Regions from separate parts of the Homo sapiens genome. Here regions 1, 3 and 4 are each linked to region 2. Evidence: promoter capture Hi-C in human tissues and cell types (Jung and others, 2019). All regions are on one chromosome and are shown on one strand. Each heading gives the region's core, a stretch centred on a gene start or on the middle of the fragment in contact. The rest is flanking DNA. Distances are from core to core; before and after follow the strand shown.

The links. Contacts are between HindIII fragments. The study calls those that stand out against the background at their distance.
Region 1: a contact is called between a fragment that was not itself captured here and the fragment with the promoter of IFNL3 in region 2, in 8 of the 25 tissues and cell types used here (H1 embryonic stem cells, liver, lymphoblastoid cells and 5 more).
Region 3: a contact is called between the fragment with the promoter of LRFN1 here and the fragment with the promoter of IFNL3 in region 2, in 4 of the 25 tissues and cell types used here (adrenal gland, heart right ventricle, mesenchymal stem cells and 1 more).
Region 4: a fragment that was not itself captured here is called in contact with the fragment with the promoter of IFNL3 in region 2 in 14 of the 25 tissues and cell types used here (IMR-90 fibroblasts, bladder, dorsolateral prefrontal cortex and 11 more).

What each region holds. Positions count from the first base shown.
Region 1 is chr19:39,366,919-39,373,476 of GRCh38, forward strand. SAMD4B (sterile alpha motif domain containing 4B) reads left to right here. Exons shown (of 14, transcript NM_001384574.2): 4 at 2,737-3,207. It also overlaps the pseudogene RN7SL566P. Among named protein-coding and RNA genes, the nearest start is that of PAF1, 21 kb to the right of the region's middle. The HindIII fragment of the contact is 4,760 bases long and covers 1-3,772 here.
Region 2 is chr19:39,240,146-39,246,690 of GRCh38, forward strand. It overlaps IFNL3 (interferon lambda 3), which reads right to left and starts at 4,861. Exons shown (of 5, transcript NM_172139.4): 1 at 4,643-4,861; 2 at 4,272-4,349; 3 at 3,863-4,012; 4 at 3,679-3,762; 5 at 3,408-3,585. The coding sequence starts at 4,822. The coding sequence ends at 3,487. It also overlaps the pseudogene IFNL4. The HindIII fragment of the contact is 34,684 bases long and covers 1-6,545 here.
Region 3 is chr19:39,318,320-39,324,803 of GRCh38, forward strand. LRFN1 (leucine rich repeat and fibronectin type III domain containing 1) reads right to left here and starts at 2,544. Exons shown (of 5, transcript NM_020862.2): 1 at 2,474-2,544; 2 at 7-39. RefSeq lists a silencer at 2,133-2,392. The HindIII fragment of the contact is 12,533 bases long and covers 1-5,619 here.
Region 4 is chr19:39,348,849-39,355,646 of GRCh38, forward strand. It overlaps SAMD4B (sterile alpha motif domain containing 4B), which reads left to right. Exons shown (of 14, transcript NM_001384574.2): 2 at 5,158-5,218. Among named protein-coding and RNA genes, the nearest start is that of SAMD4B, 9.8 kb to the left of the region's middle. The HindIII fragment of the contact is 6,332 bases long and covers 1-6,213 here.

The DNA of each region.
Region 1 (6,558 bases), core at 143-2,642, 120 kb after region 2:
GCTTGTGCCTTTAGAATCTCTGTGTGTATCTGAAAGGAGGGAGACACAGTGAGATATAATAACCACAATACTAGTAAAAGCAGCTAGTGTTTACTGAGGACTTACTCTATGCTGTGGCCTCACATAATTCATAGCAGCCATGCCAGGTAGGAATGATTCTGGGCTCCACTTTACAGATAGAGAAAATAGAGCTCAGTGAAGTGATCACACTTGCCCAGAGTCACATGGCCAGTAAGTGGTGGTAAAGGGACATATGCCACATCTCTGCCTATTCCTTTTCATCACCCACTCCTTTGGGGTCCTAGCTCTGTCTGGTTAGAGCCAGCTCCTTTGCCCATTTCCAAGACCTCACCATTAGCACATCTCTCAGAACTCCTTTGTGAGATATTTGTAAGTCATCACCTTGGCTACAGATGTGAGCTCAGTTGCCCAAGGGTGAGAGCGTAGTTGGCCTCAGACCTAAATCTTTGTCTCTTTTCCCAAGTATTGGTATTTTTTGTCCCTCTCCTTGTCCTGTCAGCATTATCTCCATCTTCCACCCTGTTTAGCTAGTCACAGAAGTGCTAATGAGGTTTTTTTTTTCTTTTTCTTTTTTTTTTTTTTTTTTTTGAGACGGAGTCTCACTTTGCCCCCAGGCTGGAGTGCAGTGGCGCGATCTCGGCTCACTGCAACCTCCACCTCCCGAGTTCAAGTGATTCTCCTGCCTCAGCCTCCCAAGTAGCTGGAATTACAGGCATCCACCACCATGCCCGGTTAATTTTTGTATTTTTAGTAGAGACAGGCTTTCACCATGTCGGCCAGGCTGGTCTCCAGCTCCTGACCTCAGGTGATCCACCTGCCTCAGCCTCCCAGAGTGCTGGGATTACAGGCGTGAGCCACCACGCCCAGTGCTAATAAGGTCTTTGAGGGGGAGAGTCAGACTTGTAACAGTTCCTACCCAAGCCTTCTTTGATGTGGCCAGCCTGGGGCCATATTCTTAGGGACCTCCCTTGTGGGTTGAAAGGGGAAACCTGAGGCCGGGCGCAGTGGCTCACGCCTGTAATCCCAGCACTTTGGGAGGCTGAGGCGGGTGGATCACGAGGTCAGGAGATCGAGACCATCTTGGCTAATGCGGTGAAACCCTGTCTCTACTAAAAATACAAAAAATAAGCTGGGCGTGGTGGTGGGCGCCTGTAGTCCCAGCTACTCGGGAGGCTGAGGCAGTAGAATGGCATGAACTCAGAAGGTGGAGCTTGCAGTGAGCCAAGATCGCGCCACTGCACTCCAGCCTGGGCGACAGAGCGAGACTCCGCCTCAAAAAAAAAGAAAAGGGAAACCTGGCTTATCTCCACAGGGTAGACTCAGGTCCTCACACAGTGGGATAGAAAGGAGAGGTCAAGATGACCATGACATGGAACAGCCAGGGAATGCTTCCTGGAGGAAGGTAGTAAGTTAGGCCATCTACAAAAGAGAATTTGTATAGGAGGAAGGAGGTTGTTGCGGGCCAAAACCTTGAATCTCAGCCAAGGTGTGGAGCTTGGATAAATACATACTGTGGAGAGAACCCCAAGGAAGATGGGGAGATATCCTGAGCTGAGTCTTTATCTGGAGGAATGGGAGATGGAGGGTGCCCTGGAAATGAAGGTGATGTTAGGCTAGGAGTTCTTGGACTTGAGTCTGTTGGTGCTTGCTGGTTGCCATTATAAACTCCTGGTCAGGAACATGACATCCTGTTGTGATTTAGGAAGATAAATGCATCTGGATGTATGGGATCGATTGGAAGGGGAGAATCTAGAAGCAGAGAGACCAGTTAAAAAACAATAGCAAGCATTTATTATGTCGCCAAACCACTTTGTGTTCTTTGCTAGCTCATTGAATCTCAAAGCAACACTGTGAATTGGGTACTGTAATTATCTCCAAAATTTCGCAGATAATTTAGTGCTCCATGAGGTTCAAGGTAGCTTACCAAGATCTAGCTAGTAAGCTGGGGTGTCTAGACCATCTGATTCCAGAGCCCAAGCTTTTAACTACCATATACCACTGCCTTCTCCATTCAGGAAGGAGACTGCTTTTTGGCAGGGGAAATGGCATAGAGGCCATGAAGAATGGAGGAAGGAGTCATGGAGATAAAGCATGAGAGCAGGCCTGGGGACAGGAGTTGTTCAGATTCCAGAGTAGCAAGTTTGGCTGATTGGGAGGCACTGCAGGTTTCTGAGAACAGGAGTGATAGAACAAAGAAAAATTACTCTACACCAGCTGTGGTGGGCACATGACTGTAGTACCAGCTACTTGGGAGGCTGAGGCAAGAGGATTGCCTGAGTCCAGGAGTTCTGGGCTATAGTGTGCTATGCTGATTGGGTGTCTGCACTAAGTGTGGCCCCAGTATGGTGACCTCCTAGGAGTGGGGGACCACCAGGTTGCCTAAGGAGGGGTGAACTGGCCCAGTTTGGAAATGGAGCAGGTCAAAACTCCCGTGCTGATCAATAGTGGGATTGCACTTGTGAATAGCCACTGCACTGCAGCCTGGGCAACATAGTGAGACCCCATCTCTTAAAAAAAATAAGACAAAAATTACTCCAGAGGCAGGGTCAGTGTGTTTGATCTCACCTATATGAGGGATAAGTTTGGGAGTTATGAAAAGAAAATCGTTATGAAAAGAAGATTGGAGCTGAGGGAATAGGCCATAGGCAGTGCTCTCAGGTGAATAGGAGTACCCCACCCTGGCTCTCCTGATATTTCTTCTTATCCCTTCTGTAGCCATCGTCAGCCAGTGGCAGCAGGAGTCCAAAGAGAAGGTGGTGTCCCTCCTGCTGTCCCACCTTCCCCTGCTTCAGCCAGGCAACACAGAGGCCAAGTCGGAGTACATGAGGCTACTGCAGAAAGTGCTGGCCTACTCAATCGAGAGCAATGCTTTCATCGAGGAGAGTCGCCAGCTGCTTTCCTATGCCCTCATCCACCCAGCCACCACACTGGAGGACCGCAACGCACTGGCCCTCTGGCTGAGCCACCTGGAAGAGCGGTTGGCTAGTGGCTTCCGCTCCCGGCCAGAGCCCTCCTACCATTCACGTCAAGGCTCAGATGAGTGGGGGGGCCCTGCAGAGCTAGGCCCTGGGGAGGCAGGGCCAGGCTGGCAGGACAAGCCACCCCGGGAAAATGGACACGTGCCCTTCCACCCATCCAGCTCAGTGCCGCCAGCCATCAACAGTATTGGGAGCAATGCAAACACAGGTAAGTGGCGGGGGTGTCCCAGAAGGCCATGCCTACTTGAAAAAGGTTGGACTAGGCTCAGTGAGAGCTCTCTCGCTCTGTGGCATTAGACAAGTCACATAAGCTGTAGGCCTCAACTTTATGAGGCAATGCAGAGGCTGTGAACTGGCTTTCCCAGAGCTGAATCTGACCTACAGACATGTCTTATTGAACCCATACTTTGGTTTGGTTTTATTTTGTTGTGTTGGGTTTTTAAATAAATGTGAGTGGTACAAAGAATCAAGAATTTTTCCCTAAAAATGAGATTTCCAGCCTTTCTTGAGAAGTCAAAAGATCTAGCAACTCAACAAGATCTGTTTTCCTAGTGGCAGCAATAATATAGAGCTTAATGTTGAGCATGCCCTTTAGACCCTGCACAAGTGCCCTAGTCTGCCTCTGCTCCCACCAACCCCCCTTTGGGCATTTCTGATATATACCTGGCCTCTAAGGGCATCAGGCTATGACGCTTGATGGAGGTGTGCATACCATCATCTGAGATCCCTTCCAGTTCAGACAACATTATGGATTTTATGTATCTGGCCTCACTTTACAGCTTTGTTTCTGAGAACACTGTCTGTATAAGACAAAACTCATGCTGCAAGGTATTTGTAATAGTAGGTAGCATTTTTCAGCATTGACTATGCTAGGTACTCTTTTATAGACACTTTTCAGGTATGATCTCAGTCCGCATCACAACCGTATCATTAGCCCTATTCAACAGATGAGGACATCGGGACTCAGAGGTGAAGTGATGTGTTCAAAGTCACACGTAGAACAAGTGGTGGAACAGACCCAACCAGTCTGATGGCAGAGCCTGCCTCTGACCACTACACTGTCCTGCCAACTAAGCAGGTTTGAAAGAGCTCTCTTAGTAAAAGCCCTGCAGGCGGGAGTGAGCAGAAGTTGTTGGTATCCCAGTGACTTTTTGAAATGCACAGGATAAGGGAGGGTGGATTTTCCAAGCCATGGTAAGGCAGCATGACCTGACCCAGGGTGAGGGAGAGGGTTCATGATGTAAACCTCAGAGTAGCTAGTCACCTTCAGCAGGCACTGGTTTAAAGCAAGACAAGAGAGAGTGACAGTGAAATGTCACATGTGTCAGTGGGTGGGGGTAACCTCGGGTCCCTAATGCCCCGCTGTCTGGTACCTGGTGCTCATCAGTTATTCCTTGAGCCTGTTTTTCCCCCAGTTAGTGTGGCTATTCTGGTCCATCTGCCTCCCTCCCAGTTGCTGGTGAGAACCTGGGAAGATAGAGGGATAGAAGGGCAGTTTCAGGAAACTTAGCAACCTGAGGTGTCTTGGACCTCATTTTCCAGTCATGGAGCATCACAGTTCCAGGATGGGAGGATGTATTAATAATGATCATTCTAGGCAAAAAATATTGAGTGCTAGTCCGGGCATGGTGGCTCACGCCTGTAATCCCAGCACTTTGGGAGGCCGAGGCAGGCAGATCACCTGAGGTCAGGAGTTCGAGACCAGCCTGACCAACATGGTGAAACCTCATCTCTACTAAAAATATAAAAATTAGCTGGGTATGGTGGTGCATGCCTATAATTCCAGTTACTCGGGGGGCTGAGGCAGGAAGGTCGCTTGAACCCAGGAGGTGGAGGTGGCAGTGAGCCGAGATCTTGCCATTGCATTCCAGCCAGGGCAACAGAGCGAGACCCCATCTCAAAAAAAAAAAAACAAAAACACACATCGAGTGCTTAGTCTTTACTAGGAGCTATTCTAAGAACTTTATACATATAAACTCAAGGTTTAAAGCCAGGCATTCTGACTATAGACTTCATACTCTGAACTACTATGCTACACTACCTCCACCAAAAAGTACCTCTCCTGGAGATGCTCATCCCTCACCAAGGGGAGGGGTCACCCAGGCAGGGTGCCTATAAATTTCTTTGTCTTCATACCTTTTGTGCTCCCCATCATGGGTACCCCAGCAGCCATTAAAGGATGAAGATTGAACAATGTTGATAGGGGTTTGGACCAAAAGAGGAAAAGGAATTGGGCATTCCAAGTAGAAGGCACAGCATGAAATAAGCACGGGGTGGATAATTAGAGGGGACAGTATACAGACAGATCTGGCTGGGGTGGATTCGAATGAGTAATAACAGTAGCAGAGACTTGTGCTTACCGTGTGCCTATCCCTCTGCTAAGGACTTCATGCAGAAATGGAGGCAGAGAGGTGAATGAAGTGACTTGCCCAAGATCACACAGAGGCGACAGAGTCAGAGTCAGGATTTGAACTCAGGCCTGTCTTTACCCTCAGACCTCAGTGTGTGAAGGCTACATTCTGGGGGGCGTTGAAGGACAGGAGAAGCTTTTGGATTCCAGGCAGTTGCAGGAAACAGGAAATCATTAAAATATTTTTGAGTGGGGAGCAAGGATTGGCCTTTGAGGGCAGGCAGCTTGGGTTTGGGGTGCTGCCAAGAACAGATCAGGATTTCTTGGAGAGTGCAAGGCCCTGGATCTCTGGCCGGCATTCTTGTTTTTGTCATTCTCATGCTGTGGCCAGCCTCCACCCCAGTGCGGAGCCAAGCAGGGCTCCTCAGGAACTGCACGATCATTCCAGTCAGGGTAATTTCCTGCCTCTCAGCCTCTCCTGCCTACTTCTTGGCTGAGAAGGGAGAAAGAAGGAGGCCAGAGACACCAAAACAGGCAAAAAGGCCTGTCTTGAGGATTCCCCAGTCCCCCAGGGCCCAGAGTGTGCCATGTTCCCCAAGAGTGCTGAGTGGGGACAGAAGCCAGGGCTGAGGGAGTCTAGAGGCTGAAGAACTCCTGGGAAGAGGACCCTGGACACTCTGGGGTAGGGCAGAAACTGGTATTAAGGGTGGGCCACTGCCTTGCCCTGTCCCTTAGGTGACTTCCTAGCCAGGAGCATTAGTATTGTCACAGCTGAGGGAAGATGCTCTGGGGCCTGCACCAGGCTAGCCCTCCTTCCTGGGCTGGGTGTCACTGTAGCACTGGCAGGAACCCCAGCCTTTCCATCAGAAACAAGGCTTGGGCTCTGTCTCAGCCTGTCAACTCCCGTGGGAACTGGGGCAAAGGGCTTCAGCTCCCTGGGCCTTGATGTCCTCACCTACCCAGGGTGAGGCTCGTTGGCTTTGTTTCATTTCTTTTTGTCTAGGCTGACTTGGGGTACTTCTGGATGCCATAGGTGGAGCTCAGAGGCCCTCTTAGCACCCTTTTGTCCTTTATGAAACTTCGTTGGAAGGACTTCTGTGTGTCATGCCCTGTGCCTGATCATGGGATTGCAGAAGTAATTGGACTGGGCTGCCATTCTCCATGGACCCACAGTCCAGTGCAAGAGGGAGGCTAGTGAGGAGGGCAGCA
Region 2 (6,545 bases), core at 3,611-6,110:
GAATTCCTGGGCCTGTGGATTTGGAAGGGCGGAAAAACTATGTGTATTCTCACTAACCTCTGTCTGAAATTTGATATTTCCTGAATGTATGTTTCTTACACCTGCTGTAACAAATGACCCCCAACTTAGTGGGGTAAAACAACTCAGACTTTCCAGGGATGGATAGACGGATGGGCAAAATATAGTCTACACATATGATGGAATATGATTCAGCCTTCAAAAGGCAGAAAATTCTGGCCGGGTGCGGTGGCTCCCACCTGTAATCCCAGCACTTTGGGAAGCCGGAGCAGGAGGATCGCTTGAATCCAGGAGTTCCAGATCAGCCTGGGCAACATACTGAGGCCTCGTCTCTATAAAAAATTTAAAAATTAGCCAGATGTGGTAGCACACATTTGTAGTGCTGGCTACTCAGGAAGCTAAGGCAGGAGGATCACTTGAGCTGAGGAATTTGAGGCTGCAGTGAGCTGATTGCACAACAGTACTCTAGCCTGGGTAACAGAGCAAGACCCTGTCTCTAAACTTAAAGACAGAGAGAGAGAGTCCAGGCGCGGTAGCTCATGCCTGTAATCCCAGCACTTTGGGAGGCCAAGGCCAGTGGATCACCTGAGATCAGGAGTTCGAGACCGACCTGGCTAACATGGTGAAACCCCATTTCTACTAAAACTACAAAAAATTAGCTGGGTGTGGTGGCAGACACCTGTAATCCCAGCTACTCGGGAGGCCGAGGCAGGAGATTCACTTGAACCCAGCAGGTGGAGGTTGCAGTGAGCCAAGATCGCGCCACTACACTCCAGCTTGGGCAACAAGAGCGAAACTCTGTCTCAAAAAAAAAAAAAAAAAAAAAGAGAGCAAGAGGAGGGAAGGAAGTTCTGACACATGCTACAATAAAAATGAACTTTGAAGACATTATGTCAGTGAAATAAGCCAGTCTCAAAAGAACAAATGCTGTATGATTCCCCCTACATGAGGTGCTGAGAGAAGTCAAATTCCTAGAAACAGACGTGTCTAAATATTTGCCGGGGTAGCGGGAGGGGTTAATAGGAAGTTGTTGTTTAATGGGTACAGAGATTCAATTTTGTAAGATGAAGAGAGTTCTGGAGATTGCTTGCCGAACAATGTAGCAAACACCACTAGGACCAGACCTGTAATCCCGGCACTTTGGGAGGCCAAGGGGGGCAGATCACTTGAGGTCAGGAGTTCGAGACCAACCTGGCCAACATGGCAAAACCCCATCTCTACTAAAAATACAGTAATTAGCCAGGCATCTGACTGGCTAATGGCACACACCTGTAGTCTCAGCTACTCAGGAGGCTGAGGTGGGAGGATCACTTGAGCCTAGGAGGTCGAGGCTGCAATGAGCTATGATCATGCCAGTGCCCTCCAGCCAGGGTGACAGAGCAAGGTCCTGTCTCAAAAAAAAAAAAATAGAATAAATAAATAATAAAATTGCACTACTGAACAATGTGCTTTAGAAAGGATAAGATGGTACATTTTGTGGGTTTCCCACAATTAAAAAAAATATTTAAATTACCTGAACAAAAAGAACAAAACAAAATGCATGCACATTTCTATTCCTACAGTTCTGACAGTCAAGATGTCAGCAGAGCGGGTTCCTTCTGGAAGCAGCAGGGGAGATCTCTCTCCTTTCTCAGCCTCTGGGGGTGTCCAGCATCCCTTGACCCCGGTTCCCTTCCTGACATCACTCCAATGTCCTGTTTCTGTGGTTACATCTTCCGCTAATGATGCTGACCCCGGCCTCCTTCTTAGAAGGACTTTTGTGATGACATTGGGTCCAGGTGGACAACCCAGGATAACGCCCCCATCCCAAACCCTTAACTTACTCACATCTGCAGAGTCCCTCGTGCCATGGAACATAACATATTCCCAGGTCCAGGAATCAGGAACATCTCTGGGGACCAGTCTTGCATCTAGCACGAATCCATTACAAATGCAGCAACACACCACAGCAGTGTTAGCAGAACTTGTGACTGTTACCAAAAGAAATCACAGGCATTTCCTATCACGTTATCTTCCAGCAGGCACCTTGAAATGTCATTTATGCTCATCTCTGCTTCTAAGTCACAGTGGTTATTAAAGCTGCCACAGGTGATTTTTTACTTAATGCATTCATGAAGAAGCACATGAATTGCTATGTCACAGTGTGAAAAAATATTTTGATCACTGTATTACAATCAGAGTTGGATTCCTTTGTCCTGCACGTGTTCTTTCCTTCTGAGAAGGGTCCGTAGGCTTTTCAAGGCTGCCGTGAGGTCCGGTGGGTGAAGATGATGAGGGAGCCCTGTCCCGGGGACTGTGGAGCACAGAACTGCCAGGAACCAGGGCCCCTGGATGACTGAGTGGGGCCATCCTGCCAGGGGGAGCGCTCACCTTGGGAGGAGGAGCTGGTGGAGAATGACACTCTGTGGTTTGTAATTCATGATCACTGTATTTGGGGGACTCTTTGTTCCAGCAGCTCAGCCAACTCTACTCAGCAGGGGTCCCTGATCCAAGTTGTCCTCCTCATCTGTAGGGGCTTATCCAGGGTTAGTGAGACCTCATGTTTGCTTATACAATTCAGGGGCTTCTTGGAAAGAGAATGGGCTGGACCCGGTGACTCAAGCCTGTAATCCCAGTTCGGGGAGGGGCTGGAGAGGGTGGAGGATGGTGCCGAGGAGAGAGAATCACTTGAGCCCAGGAGTTTGAGGCTACAGTGAGATGTGATCACGCAAGAGACAGGATCTTGCTGTTGCTCAGGCTGGTCGTGAACTCCTGACCTCAAACAGTCCTCCCATCTCAGCTTCCACCAGTAGCTGGGATTATGGGCTTGTGCCACCACACCCAGCCAATTCTCTAATTTTTTATAGAGACAGGATCTTGCTATGTTGCCCAGGCTGGTCTGGGCTCAAGTGATCCTCCCAACTCAGCCACCCAAAGTGCTGTGATTACAGGCTTGAGCAATCACATCCAGGCTCTAAATTAATTTTAAAGATGCTTCATTTCACCCAATACATCCAAAGTGCTATCATTTCAACATCTAATGAATATATAAATTATAATTAAGCTGTTTTACTTTTTTTTTTTTCTCCACAGTAAATCTTCAAATTCTGGGGTATGTTTTACACTCACTGAAAAAATGAGGTTGCACCACCTACATTCCAGGTGCTCGATAGTGACATGTGACCTGGGGACCCCAGTGGACAGCACAGACTCAATGAACCTGCTGTTCTAGATGCTACTTTTAGGGTAATTTGTTATGGCAGCAATGCAAAGGAAATACACACCAACGCACACACAGTCCCACGTCATGGGTGTCTTTTCCTCATTGTTTATTTCAACAAGGATTTCAAAAAGTAGAAAAATAAACATTTTCCTGGAGGTGAGTTGGATTTACATACACAAATACATAAATAGCGACTGGGTGACAATAAATTAAGCCAAGTGGCTAATTTATAAATAAAATCTCAGGTTGCATGACTGGCGGAAGGGTCAGACACACAGGTCCCCGCTGGCAACACAATTCAGGTCTCGCGTGAGGAGGCGGAAGAGGTTGAAGGTGACAGAGGCCTCGAGGCAGCCAGGGGACTCCTGTAGGGAGGAGGGGATGGGTCAGGGGCTGTCTGGGTTCTGGGCTCCCAGTGGCTCCCCAGACCTCAGTCCCTCTCTTCCCGGGTCACTCACCTTTTTTGGGGCCTCCTGGAGCCGGTGCAGCCAATGGTGGAGGCGGCCCCGGGTCCTGGGCCCTGCCGTGGGCTGAGGCTGGATCTGTGGGCAGAGGAGGGCGGTGTGTGAGCCGGGGCCTTGGCCAGGGGAAGGACGCTGCTCAGAGCTCACAGACCTGGGTGCCCGGGCCCTGACGACTCACACAGGCCCGGAGCTGGGAGAGGATATGGTGCAGGGTGTGAAGGGGCTGGTCCAAGACATCCCCCAGGGCTGGGTCAGTGTCAGCGGTGGCCTCCAGAACCTTCAGCGTCAGGGCCAGCTCAGCCTCCAAAGCCACGGGGCGCTCCCTCACCTGAGGAGAGGTGAGAAAGAGCAGGTGAGGGGGGAGGTGAGGGGAACAGGTTGGGGGAGGAGGATAGAGAGGAACAAGTGAAGGTGACAGGCACAGGGGAGAGGGCACAGCCAGTGTGGTCAGGTAGGAGCAGAGGGAAGGGGTAGCAGGTGTGGGGAGAGGAGAGAGGGACAATGGAGAAGGAGAAGGTGAAGGGGCCACTACAGAGCCAGGTGAGCAGGGCTGGGAGGGCAGGGGTGGGCCTGACTCCCCCTCTCACCTGCAGCTGCCTCAGGTCCCAGGTCCTGGGGAAGAGGCGGGAGCGGCACTTGCAGTCCTTCAGCAGAAGCGACTCTTCCTAGACAGCAAAGGCACAGGTTAGCCCCAGCAGGAGGGGTGGAGGTTAGACCACTCTGATGGGATTGGAGGATGGCTGACAACAGGATAGGGGAGGTTAACTGCTGGGAGGATGGTAGAGGACCCTCTTCTTCAGGAAAACATGAGTCAGTCCCTGCAGTAGGAGCATGAGATAGCCCACTGCAGGGAGGGTGGAGGCTAGCCCAGTGAAGGAAGCTGGGAGTGGGAAAGCATGGTGACCCTTGGAGTGCGGGTGGAGGCTAGTCCATGGCAGGAGGGCAGGGGGAGACTCACTAAGGCATCTTTGGCCCTCTTAAAGGCCTGCAGCTCCTGTGGAGACAGGGACTTGAACTGGGCTATGTGGCAGCCCCTTGCATCCGGGAGAGCCCCGCGGAGCCTGGCGACAGGAACTGCTCCAGTCACGGTCAGCACTGCGGCCATCAGCACCAGCACTGGCATGCAGTCCCCGGTCATGTCTGTGTCACAGAGAGAAAGGGAGCTGAGGGAATGCAGAGGCTGCCCACTGAGGGCAGGGGCTGCAGGAGCTGAGCACGGACAGAGATGTGGGACTCACCTAGTTTCATTCCTGATCTCTGGTCTTTGTCAGCAGAAGAAACACTCTGAGGCTGTCACCCAGGGTCTGTTTGGGTCTTGTCTGGAGTCTCTGTTCTTTTCAGTCCCCTCTTCTGGATCTCAGACTGTGTCCTGGCTTTGACTCTTTCTGTCAGTTTTGAGCTCTGTCTGGGATGTAATTCCTGCCTGAGCTCCATGGGGCAGCTTTTATCCCTGACAGAAGGGCAGTCCCAGCTGATGTAGGAAAAGTGAAAACACAGCCTCAGGTAAGACACCGGCCACCAGGGGAGCCCCAGGCTGGGAAAGCCCAGAGCAGGGCAGGGCTAGTGAGCCAGATGAGCAGCTGGAGGGAAAGAGAAACTGATGGAGACTCAGGGGTAACCTACAGGAAGGTATGTTCCCAAGAGGATTCCACCTGCTCTGGTTTTGTTGTTGTTTAAGACAGGGTCTCACTCTGTCACTGCAGTGCAATGGCATGATCACAGCTCACTGCAGCCTCAAACTCCTGGGCTCAAGCCATCCTCCTCACCCAGCCTATTAAAGTGCTGAGATTACAGGCCTGAGCCACCACTCCTGGCATATATATATATATATATATATATATATTTTGAGACAGGGTCTTGTTCGGTCACCCAGGCTGGAGTGCAGTGCAAAATCTTGGCTAACTGCAACCTCCGCCTCCTGGGTTCAAGCAATTCTCTTGCCTTAGCCTCCCAAGTAGCTGAGATTACAGATTTGTGCCACCATTCCCAGCTAATTTTTATATTTTTAGTAGAGATGGCGTTTCACCATGTTGGCAAGGCTGGTCTCAAATTCCTGATGTCAAGTCATCTCTCTGTCTAGGCCTCCCAAATTGCTGGGATTTCAGTGTGAGCCACCATGCCCAGAGGCCAATATTTCTTAATTGCCCAGGCAAGGAAGGACTCAGGAATATGAGGCTCTGCTCAAGAATTGAGGTGTGACGAAGGACTTGAAGGACACCACGTGGGTGCCGTCTTTCTTAGGGAAGTTCAGGCAGTGGTGAAGAGCATGGGTCTTGGAGATGAAGGGTCTGGGGTTCAAACCTGGTTCTGACCCTCACTAGCCGTGTGACCTTGGCAAGGAGGGGTGCATTCAGCAACGCAGATTGCTAATGCACAGATTTGGAGAAAAAATTAATAACACAATTGTTTGTGTATTTATGTGAGTGATTATTTAATAGAATCCACTCATTAAGACCATACTAGGACCTCAGCTGGAGAGTTTAAAACGTGATCTCAACGGACACTACTCCTCCACAAGGCAAGTATGCTAACCCATCCTATAGGTGAGGAAACAGAGGCTCAGAAAAGTAATTTGCCCTGAATTCCACTGTAATTAACTGGCAGGGTCAGAACTGAAACTCAGGCCACCTGAGTCCCTGGCTCGGCCTCTTTTTTTGCTGTAAGGTGCACCTCACAATCATCATACGGAAAACAACCAATGCGATCAAAACACTCTTTGATAACTGGCAATAAATTTAAACCGGGAGACAGAATAGCAAATGCACAGGAACTTCACAAATACAAACACACGTAAGGGAATCCAAAGAACCACAGTCGGTTAAGGACCCTTGGGCCTTTCACTACCAAATCCCTCATGGATT
Region 3 (6,484 bases), core at 1,294-3,793, 76 kb after region 2:
ACTCACCTCTCTTCAGGGAGTCAGGGCCTGGGCCAGCACCTGCAAAGGAACAGAACCACCTTGTTAGCATCGTTCTGGCTCTTCTCTGTGCACCAGATCTTGCCTTGGAGACCATCCCGGCCAAGGAAGTCCCTGGTGTGATCACGCTCTCAGTCCTCCTGTGGCGGGTTTTGCATAGTCTCACAGGAACCCAGAAGTCCTCTCTGGAATCCTAGATTAGGCCTCAGGGTTGTTCACCCTCCAAAGCCCAGGAGTCGAGGACTTTAGCCCTTTGTCCTCTGGGGTTTCAGGAGCCAAGAACCCCAGCCCCCTCTTCCCTCTGACCCAAGAGTCCAGACCAGACCTCTGGCCCTCCATTAGAACCCAAGAGTTTACATCCCAGCCCCTCAACTCCAAAGTCCTGAACGGTACCAAGAGCTGGGGAAGGGCCAAAGTTTCCCATCCTTGCCATGATACTATTGCCCACACCAACATGTGTGTCCATGTCAGAACCCACGCAAGCCCACAACCCAAGTCTCTACATCTGGATTTCTATGAACATAGCAACATGATCTGTGTGCCCTCCGCCCTCTATGGGCACTTGGCCTGGCATATGGACACACTGTGTCCAGGGACCCCAGGCGGGACCCCAGTATACCAGAGGTCATGCCACATGGGCCTCAAACCCACTGAACCCAAGAGTAGGGACAGCCTTGTGCCAGGGCACAGACACATGTGTCTTTCACATACATGTCTGAACATACACAACCCCCAGAGACCAACACCAAAACACAAACAGACTCACAACATAGATGGATACATACCCTCAAGGTTGACACACCTGCATGCAACAATACATGTACAACACTGACTCTGCCATGCAAGTTCACACACACAAATGCACAGATACAACAGAGAAACTCATGTGCCCCCTAACAGACAACCAGGTACATGCATTTACAACAGATCTACCTTGCACACTCACCAGCACACAGGGGCACACACATCTAACAAACACACACACACCTGTGCAAACATACACAAGTGCACACTCTTAAATGCCTAGACACACTCATACTTCACACATCTCCATGTTGCAAAGTTGATACAGCACCACGCTAACAGATACATACCTCACACACACACACACACACACAAAACCACAAGCATACAGATACGAGGCTGATCCACACTGGAACACGCACACAGGCACAAAAAGATCCACCTTTGCAGACACGCCAAGATGTTCACTCATAACAGACACATGCTCACACAACAGTCCTGTGATTTACACACTTCCAAATGCATAGAAAATACTGAACCACAGTAGCACAGTCAGTAGACAGGCCCAGATTCACACTCACACAGTCTTGGACACACATTCCTCCCAGCCCTGAGGCACCCCCCCACCACCCCACCTACTTACTTCCCAGGCCCAAGAAATCCTAACATCCCTGCAGCACATTCAGCATCCTGCCCTCCACACCCCCAAAAAACCAGGGCAAAAGCCAGGCCAGAGGTCAGAGTTCAGCAGGTGGAAACTCAAGAGGATTTGGGGGTTTGAGTCCTAGATCACCGTTTCAAGGAGATCCTCCCACCAGCAGCCCCAAAGGTTCCCCAGCCTGGCCATCAGGATGGAGGTAACTCTGGCTCCGTCTGCAGATGTCTGGCCGGTGGGGGAATTAGGGTGGAGTGGGTGGGGAAGGGCCGGGTCTTCGCCCCCCAACCCCCACCTCAGGGCCCATCTGTCCATTTCTCGGCCTCTCATCCCCCCTCCATCTGTCCACCTCCTGGCCGCCCATCCCCCCCCCGCAACCACCGGGAAGGGGAAGACATGGCCGCTTCCCCCAGGACCGCTAAGGACCCCCCAGTTGACATGGACCGAGGGAGCGGCGAACTCCCCTCCCCCAAATCCACACCGAGGCCTGGGCGCCGAGCCTCAGCCCCCAAGCCAGCAACCTGCCGTGGACTCACAGATACACACCCTCGGAGACATACAACCCGCAGACACACACACACACACACACACACACACACACACACAAATGGACACCCGAGCGGGCACACCCGGCTCCACAGACCCGGGGATGGACATCCAACCCGGACACAAACACCCAGAGCAGCTAGTCGCGCACGCACATGGGCTTGGGGGGGACCCACACCTGGGCACACAACCCACGCACACACACACCTGCACACAGCCCCTCCGATGGGCGCGCGACAGCGCCCAGACACACAGCCGGAGGGGCGGCCGCTCGGGGGGACACGCGTGCACAGCCGGACACGCCGGCCGGGCTCGACACCCCGCGCACACCCGATGGCCACACGGGCAGGGCGCCGCACACGCCGGCACCGGGCACACATAGGGCCGCGCGGGCGCACGCCGGGCCCGCCGCAGCGCCACGGACACACACTCGCACGCTCGCACGCTCACACCCGCGCACACACCCGCGCCCCCGCCCGCCGCTCCCGGGCCGCTGCAGGCCGCGCTCACCCAGCCCGGGGGGGCCCCGGGCCCGGCCCCGCCGCCGCTGCCTCGCTCCGCGCCATGGTGGGGGGAGGGCCGGGGGAGGGGGCGCGGTGCCGCGGGGCCGCCTCCCTCCCGCCTCCCGCCCTCCCTCCCGAGCCGCAGCCGAGCTCCGCCCTCCGCGCCGCCCGCCGCCACCGCCGCCGCAAGGGGGGAGGGGGCGCCGACTGGTGGGGGCGGCCGGGCGGGGCGGTCGCACACCCGGGATCCCCGCCCCGAACCCGCCGCAGACCCCTCTCCACTGCCGAGCCGCCGCGGGCCCGCCCCCGACCCTTCCCCAGCCCCACCCCCAGCCCCGCCGGCCTCCCCGGAGACCCCCCCAGACCACGCCCCAACTGGCCTAGGGACCCCGGATCTCCCTACAGAGACCTCCCATCACGTCCTAATACCCAGGGGGACCTCGGATCAGGCCTCACCTCTTTTGAGAACCCAGGCGATGTTCTAGGGCCACCCAGGACCACAAATCATGCCCTGCTCTCCTGCTTGACCTCAGACTATGACCCACACACTGTCAGGAACCCCAGACCATGCCCCCAAACCCAGAAGAATCCCAGATCATATCCCAGCATCCAAGGGGATCCAGACCACCCCACCAGCAACCCTAAATCATATCCCAACATTCAGATAGACCCCCAGACCACACCCCTTCCCTCACGGACCCCAAATCATACCCTAACATCGGGGGAGACTTCAGACCATATGTCAGCCAAATCCCAGATGGTGCCTGACTCCCTTTGGGGACCCAAACCACATTCTACAGCCACCAGAACCACAAATCATATTCCACTCCTTCTTGGGGACCCCCAGCCATGTCCTTCTACCCTCAAGGACCCTAACCCATTCCCTTACCCCCAGTATGAACTCCAAACCATGCCTAACTTCTAGGGGGCCCTAAAATGTCTCTTATCCCTATGGAAGACCCTTAAACTTTCCCCATGAACCCCATTAGACCCCAAACCATCTTCCACCCCTTTGACCTTACACCTTTCTCTCTCCTTCTCCTCCAAGACATCCTTTGGTTTCCAAAACTCCCCAATTAGCCCCAATTTTTTCCCACCCCCTACTAGTCCTGCCCCCTTGAGGACCCTGCCTCCTTCTTGCTCCAGTTCTTTCTCTTGGACCCTGAAAGTCCCCCCTCCCTGTGACTTCCATAGAGCCCAGAATGCCTTGCTCCTTCCTAGTTCAGACCCCTTTGCCCATCCCCTGTCCCATAGCTGAACCCCACCCCTTCCCTCAAACCCCACTGAGTATCTCAGGCCACTCTCCTTCTCTTTCTGAGATATTCACAGGGTCCCTAAACCCAGCAACTTCTCCCCTAAAAATCTGTGTTGTTTCATGCAGTGCCCCAGATTCCTGGGGTCTCAAACCCTTCTCGTTTTGGATCCCACTGTACAGAGGTCCTCCTCTAAACCCCTTTCCTAATTTTTTTTTTTTTTTAGACAAAGTCTCACTCTGTCACCCAGGCTGGAGTAGAGTGGCACGATCTCGGCTCACTGCAACCTCCACCTCCCAGGTTCAAGCAATTCTCCTGCCTCAGCCTCCCTAGTAGCTGGGATTACAGGTGTGCGCCACCACGCCCGGCTAATTTTTCTTTTCTTTTTCTTTTTTCTTTTCTTTTTTTTTTTTTTTTTGAGACAGAGTCTTGCTCTGTTGCCCAGGCTGGAGTGCACTGGCATGGTCTCCGCTCACCGCAACCTCTGCTTCCCGGGTTCAAGCAATTCTCCTGCCTCAGCCTTCCGAGTAGCTGGGACTACAGGCATGTCCCACCATGCCTGGCTACTTTTTGTATTTTTAGTGGAGACAGGGTTTTGTCATGTTGGCCAGGCTGGTCTCGAACTCTTGGCCTCAAGTGATCCGCCCGCCTCAGCCTCCCAAAGTGCTGGGATTACAGGCATGAGCCACCGCACCCAGTCTAATTTTTCTTTCTTTCTTTTTTTTTATTTGTTTGTTTTTGAGTCAGAGTCTCACTCCATCACCCAGGCAGGAGTGCACTGGTGTGATCACAGCTCACTGCAGCCTGGACCTCCTGGGCTCAAGTGTTCCTCCCATCTCAGCCTCCTCAGTAGCTGTTTTGTTTTTGGTTTTGTTTTAGTTTTTTTATAAATGGAGTCTCACTATGTTGCCCAGGCTGGTCTTGAACTCCTGACCACGGTGGTCATGAGCTACTGTGCCTGGCCTAAATTATTTACATGAAGCCCGCCCTATCCCCCAGATCAAGCTCAGCTCTGCAGATAACTCCTTCTGGTGAACCTTAACCCCAAGCGCAACTCTGAGATGTCCCTGGGGACACTCACAATCCCCCTATTCTCCAGACTCCACCCTTCATCGCCACCACCCAGGCAGCATCCCCACCTCCCACCGTGGTTGCTAGTGCTCCCTGCTGGAGCTTGGGGGTAGGAATAACAACAACAACACAAGTGAACACATATACAGCACTATTTATGTGCCAGAAATGATTCTAAGGGTTTCACATCTATCACTTCATTCAATCTACACAACAGCCAAATGAAGAGGTCCTATTACCATCCCCATTTTATGGATAAGGGAAATAGAGGCACAGAGAGGTTTGGTCACTTGCCCAAGGTCACACAGATAGTATGTGGCAGAACAGGGTAGGGGTGATGGGGAAAGAGGGTGAGGGTAGGCCTGGGCTGGACAGGAGTAGAAAAGAGAGGGAGAGAAAAAAAGATAATAATAAGAGAGACAGATGGAAGAAGAAAGAAGCTGAAACCGAGGGAGATATGCCTTATTCATAGAGCCAATCTGGCCCTGTGAGCTCTGGTCCCAGCTGACCCTATTTCCAACGACTCTCCTCTTCTGTTCCAGCTTCTTCTTCTTCTTTTTTTTTTTTTTCTTTTTTTTTTTAGAAATGGGGGTCTCACTATGTTGCCCAGGCTGGTCTGGAACTCCTGGGATCAAGTGATCCTCCCGCCTCAGCCTCCCAAAGTGCTGGGTTTACAGGCGTGCACCACCACTCCTGGCCCCTCTTTCAGTTTTAACAATGACTTTTCTTTTCTTTTTTGAGACAGGGCCTCACTCTGTCACCCAGGCTGGAGTGCAGTGGCATGATCTCGGCTTACTGCAACCTCTGCCTCCCAGGCTCAAGCGATTCTCCTACCTCAGCCTGAGTAGCTGGGACCACAGGCGCCCACCACCACACCCGGCTAATTTTTGTATTTTTAGTAGAGACAGGGTTTTGCCATGTTGGTCAAGCTGGTCTCGAACTCCTGACCTCAAGTGATCCGCCCACCTCAGTCTCCCAAAGTGCTGGGATTACAGGTGTGAGCCACCGCATCCGACCCCTTGTTCAGCTTCTACGATGACTTTCCTATTCCTCCAACACACCAGCCCACAGCAGCAGCCCCTGAGCATATGCACTCTTCTCCCCTTTCCATGGCTGCTGGTTCTTTCTTTTCATGATGGTCTTAAATGTAATCTCTTCAAAGAGACCTTCCTTTTCCATCCCCAATTTACACACACCATCCCTACCTGGGCCCCCAACCAGCAGTCTGATGTTACTTTGAAATAGAAGAAGAAGGAGAAGGAGAGAAGAAAGGAAGAAGAAGGAGGAGGAGGAGGAGGAGGAGGGGAGGAAGAGGAGGAGGAAGAAGAGAAAAGAAAAGAGAGAAGAAAAGAAAGGAAGAGGAAGAAGAAGGAGGAGGAGGAAGAAGAAAGGAGGAAGAAGAGGAGGAAGAAGAGGAAGAGGAGGAGAAGGAGGAGGAAGAAGGGTGGCTGGATGGATATATGATGAAGTAATACCTTGACGTGTCAGTGGTGGCATCTAAGTGATGGGTATATGAGTGTTCACTATAAAATTATTTCAACTCAGGCTGGGCGTGGTGGCTCACATCTGCAATCTCAGCATTTTGGGAGGCCGAGGAGGGAGGATCAGTTGAGCCCAGGAGTTCAAGACCAGCCGGGCAACATAGCGAGACCCCATCTCTAATAAACTTTTATATAAATATATATATAGATATA
Region 4 (6,798 bases), core at 1,798-4,297, 110 kb after region 2:
GTACAGAAAACAGGACTTGATGATGGGATTAGAGAAAGAGAGGAATCTAGAATAATGATAATAGCCAAGTCATTTATGCCTCACAACTCTATGAGAGTAGGCACTATTATTATTTTCTGTCTTCCTTCTCAGTAGGTACTATTATTACACCCACATTACAGATGACAAAACAGGCATGGCAAGGTGAAATCACTTGCCCAAAATTACACAGGTAGTAAGTGGCAGGCTTATATTTCCAACCCGGCAGTCTGGTTCTAGAGCCACTTAGGTTTGGGGAAAGATAAGCAAGGCATGTGTAGCTGACATTAAGAAAAAAGAAATATCAAGACCTAATGACTGGGTCTTTGGGAAATGGAAGAAGTCAAAGATGACTCAAAAAAATGTCTCAGTTGTCCACAGAGAGGTGATGATTGAATCTACAGGAGTTAATTACATGCCTAAGTGAGAGAAAACAAGTGTAAAGAAGGGAAAGGAAGCAGAGAATAAACTTTTCGGGGGGAAGGGGTGTCAAGACATTTAGGAGTGGGAGGAAGAATGCTAGCTTCCTCTCTATTCCAGAGTTTACCGGAGCTCCCCATACTGTACTTATCTTCCAGGAGGCCCTGCCTGGCTTCTCCTCTCCTCTCCCTCCCTTCCCCAGCACCATTCATACAAAAAGCTCATTCTTTGCTAATGCAGTGGTGTACATGTTTTGTGTACGTATTTCAGGAGTTTCTGGAAATAATGGTTGATTCTTATAAGAGAAGTTGTGCTCCCTTGGCTTCTGACAGTCTCTTCTCAGGTTATGAAAGTGAGTTAACCCTAGGTAACTAGCCTGTTACCTTGTTCATGAAGTGTAAGTTCTCAAAGGCCTAGGTCGTGCTGTAAAAAGAACTAGGAATGGGTAAGAAGGCAGATAGGATCCCCTTATTCATCCAGAGATGTTGGTATTAAAGGGCCCTTAGGCCCAACTTTCACCTTGTTGCCCAGGCTGGTCTCAAACTCCTGGGCTCAAGCGATCTGCCCACCTCAGTCTCCCGAAGTGCTGGGATTACAGATGTGAGCCACCATGCCCAGCTTTCTTGCATTGTTAAGAGCAAGCAAGAGCTCTGAAGCCAGACTGCCTGGCCTTGAAAATCTCAGCTTGGTGTACAGTCTTGGGCAAAGTGACTTAACTTCTCTGTGCCTCAGTTGCTCCATCTGTAAAATGATAATATATTCATATATGTATGTTATATATTTTTGAAATAGAGTTTTGGGGATCAAATGTGCTTATCTGTGGAAAGCTGTTGGCAAAGGGCCTGACAATGTATGATGTATGAAGACATGCTAAGCATCATGCTTGCTATTGAAATGAAGTATAGAGGAGGAAAAAAGCATCATGCGCGGTATTTTTAAATACATTGTTTCATTTAATTCTTCTAACAAGCTTCATTGAGGAAGAAACAGAGTTACTTGTCATAGTCAATACAGCAAGTAAGTATAACAGGAGAGCCAGGATTTAAGCCAGGTCTGACTAACTCCACCATCCTGCTTCTGAATGAAGAGAGCTGGACTCCAGAGGCACTGTTTATGGGCATATGGGCCTTTTCTCACTGTTTGGGGCCAGAGAAGAAGCCCAGAGGGCAGTTTGTCCTGGAACATCTCAGCATTTTTTTGTTTTTGTTTTTGTTTTTGTTTTGAGACAAAGTCTCCAGTCCCCCAGGCTGGAGTGCAGTGGCGCAATCTCAGCTCACTGCAACCTCCACCTCCCAGGTTGAAGCGATTCTGCTGCCTCAGCCTCCTGAGTAGCTGGGATTACAGGCGCCTGCCACCACGCCCAGCTGATTTTTTGTATTTTTAGTAGAGACAGGGTTTCACCGTGTTGGCCAGGCTGGTCTCGAACTCCTGACCTCAGGTGATCCGCCCGTCTCGGCCCCCCAAAGTGCTGGGATTACAGGCGTGAGCCACCGTGCCCAGCCTTTCTCCAGGTGGGAGTGCAGTGGCATGATCTCAGCTCACTGAAGCCTCGACCTCCAGAACTCAAGTGATCCTCCCAAAGTAGCTGGGACTGCAGGTGCACACCACCACGCCCAGCTAATTTTTGGATTTTTTGTAGAAACGGTTTTGCCATGTTGCCCAGGCTGCTGATCTGGAACCTTTGGCTTTTGTTTTGTTTTGTTTTTGTTTTTTGAGACAGGGTCTCACTCTGTTGCCCAGGCTGGAGTGCAGTGGCACGATCTTGGCTCACTGCAACCTCTGCCTCCCGGGCTCAAGTGATTCTCCCGCCTCAGTCTCCCAAGTAGCTGGGGTTACAGGTGCACGCCACCACGCCTGGCTAATTTTTTTGTAATTTTTGTAGAGACGGGGTTTCACTGTGTTGCCCAGGCTGGTCTCGAGCTCCTGAGCTCAAGCGATCCACCCGCCCATGCCTCCCAGAGTGCTGGGATTACAGGCGTGAGCCACTGCACCCAGCCCTCTTAGCCATTTTGTTAACCTCATTTCCCACCTCTGGAGGTGGTAGGGGCTTCCCAAGAAGATCACTTGGACCTCTTCAAGTATGGTGGCAATATTGCTGGGCTGTTGGAGAGACTTCTGTTATAGAGGCTCCCCTCTTGTGTTTTTCCTCAAAGGCAAGGAGTCATTTTTGGTCACATGAGGACAAAGAGACCAGACCAGTAGTGCATTCTGTTTTGCATGGGAATTGTCAAGGCTCTTTCAGTTTTAACTGAAACCCAACTCAAACTGGCCTAAGTCAAAAACGAATTTATTCATCTATGTAACTGAAAAGAGTGGGCCACAAGGGGGAGGCTTCAGGCTAGCTGCATCTAGGTTTTAAATCATGTGAACAGATCTCCCTTTCCCCCTCCCCCATCTCTTGACTTTGCTGTCATCTGTTAGTTTCATTCTGAAGCAGGCTTCCACCGTGAAATAGAAGAGGTGGCAACTGGTGACATCATGAGACGATGTGTAATCTGAGCAACCCTAACCAAGAACTTATTTTCCTTAGTAGTTCCAGCAAAAATCCAGAGAGGACTATCCTTGGCCAGGCTTTACCCCATGTCCACTTCTGGAGCCAAGAAAGACAGTTCCTTCTCCAAGGGGAACCCAGGGTGTTGATACTAGAAGATGGAAATGGATACAGTAAGATGCTGCCACAGTGAGATGCCTCACCCAGGTCTCCCTCTGTCACTTCAGCCAAGCACATGGGATAGAAAGTAGCAGGCGGCCTCTGGCCCTTTAATGGAAGAGGGCCATCCAGTCCTCTCCAGTTAACATCTAGACCGAACACAAAGCATCCTTCTCTCATCCAGAAGACATAGGAACCCTACCTTCAGGGATGATTTTTTTTTAACAGTGAAATCTTAAAAGTAACTGTTTCACTAAAGCCTCCAGTATTTACTGAAGACTGTCAGAATCATCCTCCATCACTAGATCTTCTCCACCAGTCATGTTCCCTGAGCAGTGGGGTGGCTTGAAGGTATAAACCAGAGAGGCCCAAGGGAGGGATAGTTAGCAGACTTCTGGTCTTTTTCTAGTTTGTGCTCTTCTGTTCCAAGGACCACAGGTATGTCTTCTTCTGTGTAGTTGTTCACTATTGTTTCAATGTGATTCGTTTCCCACATTTGAAAATAGGGGGGGATTTTACTTTAAAATTCAGATATCTGGCTCCTCTTTAGGGGAAAAAAAAAAAAAAAAAAACCTAAGACGTAACAATACTGGACCCACATTCCTTCATGGTAGCAGTTGATAAGAGGTGGATAGTGACTTCTCCCTTTTGACCGGGTGTGGACTTTCCAACTCACCATAGTCCCAGTTGGCCTGCTTTGTTCAAAGCCTGGCCTTGTAAGCATCATGTTTGAGACCCTATTATGTCCGAAAGCTTTGCTTCTATCGTTTGGCCTGGGGGGAAAAGCTGGATTAATGTTTAGTCAGCAGCTTATTGGGTGGGTGGAGGGGGGGAACAGTGCTGTTGCTTAGGAAAAGTAACAACCCAGTAAAAGAATTTATGGGAAAGAGTGTGCACAACTTTGGTCTGTTTGTGGATTTGGTCGTTTTTTTGCTGTAAATGCTGTTGGTATATCAAACCTCCTGTCACAAATGTTCCCTCTGAAATAGTAACATGTCCTTCTATCTTATGAGTTGCCACCCAGTGAAGGAATCCCTCCCACTCCCGAGGGATGTTCATCCAGCCTCCGCTTGACCACTTCCAGCAGCCAGGGAGCTTATTACCTCCTCACATGGCAGCCAGTTCCATTCTTGGACAGATGCGTTATTTTAAAATTCTTCCTTATGTTGAAGCAGCTGCTGCCTCTTTGGGACTGAAAGCCACAAAATGCTGGAGCTGGGAAGGAAAACCGATTTTTTTAGGCGCGTGAGCTACCACTCATCCACCCTGCATCCAGGGCAAACATTGATAATTAATCACAGCACTCTTTCTCACTGAGTCAGGAAGTATGCTGCCTTAAAATTGTTTTTAATTAAATTCTTTTTTAAAAATTACAAAAGTAATATGTATTCACTTGCAACTAGTGAAGTAGTACAAAGTTATATAAAGATAGTGTTAATAATCCCCCTGTTTCTCCAAGATAGTGTTAGCAGCCGAGGGTGTATTCTTCTATACATTTATACACATATAGACATAAATATTCATATATAAGATATATAAGGGGTTTTGTATGTGGCTTTTTTTTAATTTAAAAAATGGCATTATATTGTACATATTACTGTGTAGCTTATGGACACCCCTCCAAGTAGTTACAGATCAAACATTGTATATAGCTTTGTTTTTTTGTTTTCTTGTTTTCTTTTTGAGATGGAATCCCGCTCTGTCACCCAGGCTGGAGTGCAGTGGCATAATCTCGGCTCACTGCAGCCTCCACCTCCCGGGTTCAAGCGTTTCTCCTGCCTCAGCTTCCCAAGTAGCTCGGACTACAGGCGCCCGCCACCACACCCGGCTAATTTTTATATTTTTAGTAGAGATGGAGTTTCGCCATGTTGGCCAGGCTGGTCTCAAACTCCTGACCTCAAGTGATCTGCCTGCCTCAGCCTCCCAAAGTGCTAGAATTATAGGAGTGAGCCACCACACCTGGCCAGATTAGGCATGTTTTTAATAGATACGTTATATCATACAATGTGGGATCTGCCCCAGTTTATTAATCATTCCCCATTAATGGATATTCCCATTCATTTCTTCAGGATTCTTCTCATCGCAGTGCTCCAGGCAGCCACTACCAATCGATTGGAGTTAGCCTGTGAGGTAAAACCTATTTGTCATGTCTCACCCAGTCCCGCTCCTTATCCTACATTCTAGAGAAGAGAACAGACTAGCTCCGTGATCAAAGTGAATCAGTGGCTTGGGCAGGACTAGAACTGAATTTTCTTGACTTTCAGCATTTCCTCTATCCCATGTTGTCACTCCCTTGGAGTCATCTACCCTGCTTTTCTCCTCTAGAGTAAAAGAACAAATATAATTTCTTTTCTGCGTGCTACCTCTTCAGATATTCAAAGTCAGTTATGCCATTCCCCTTGAGTCTTCTCTTCCCCAGAGGAAAATCTCAGTGCCTTCAATTTTTTTTTCTTAAAACAAGGTTTTCAAATCCCTTTACCATCCTATGAGCTGTTCCTTCTATCTTCTTCCCCCCTAGGGCTATAGAAATCCCAAGTGTGGCTTCCACATTCACCTTCTATAGCTATTTATTTATTCAATAAATATATATTGAGCACCTTCTACGTGCCAGGCACTGTTGTAGGCACTGGCTGACTGTATGGCTTGCGTTTTGGTCAGTAGAGAGAAACAAATAAGATGATACCTGAGAGTGCCAAATTATATAGGAATGAAATAGTGTTAATATAATTGGAGGAGTAACTCCTGAGATTGGATGGTCAGGGAAGCTCTCTCTGAAGAAATGACAATGAGCTGAGACCTGAATGACAGGAGCCAGCTTCTAGGGGAAGACAGTTCCACTGAATAAGAAATAATTTGGTACAAGATGAGGTTGGAGTGGCCACAGGAGTCCTATAGGGCTCGGTAGTTCAAGATAAGATGTTTGGAATTTGTTTAAAATTTTTTTTTCTTTTTTTCTGAGGCAGAGTTTCCCTGTCACCCAGGCTGGAGTGCAGTGGCATGATCTCAGCTCACTGCAACCTCCGCCTCCCAGCTTCAAGCGATTATCGTCCCTCAGCCCCCCAAGTCACTGGGATTACAGGCGTGCAGTAGCACGCCCGGCTAATTTTTGTATTTTTAGTAGAGACGGGATTTCGCCACTTTGGCCAGTCTGATCTTGAACTCCTGACCTCAAGTGATCCACCTGCCTTAGCCTCCCAAAGTGCTGGGATTACAGGTGAGAGCCACCATGCTTGACCTTATTTAGATTTTATTTAAGTGCAATGGGAAGTCATTGGAGAATTTTAGGCCAGGGAGGTGACATCTGATTTCCCCTTTAAAAAAAATTGCTGGACGCTTGTTTAACTTGGAGCAAGGTTTCATTTTCCCTCATACCTTTCCTGCTTCTTACATCCAAAGGGATTGGCAACCAGGCCAGTTCAGTCTGTTTAGGGGTCCCACAGGGGATCTGTGAGGCAAGTCACAGCTGTTGCCTAATGCACCCCACAGCCCTCCTCAGCAAGCGCACGGAAGTTCAGAGAGATGTGAGTAGCTCCCTTAGACCTGAGCCCAGTAGGTTCAATGGGTCTTTGTATGAAGTTCTCAGTCCGGGGAACCTTAGTCCTTTGGCAGCCAGAGGGGGATGGAGCTGAATGTGGTTTGAGGATAGAGCCAAGGGCACTGGTTGCAAGAGAGACAGATGGAAGAAATGTTGAGTGGAGATCTGGAGCTCG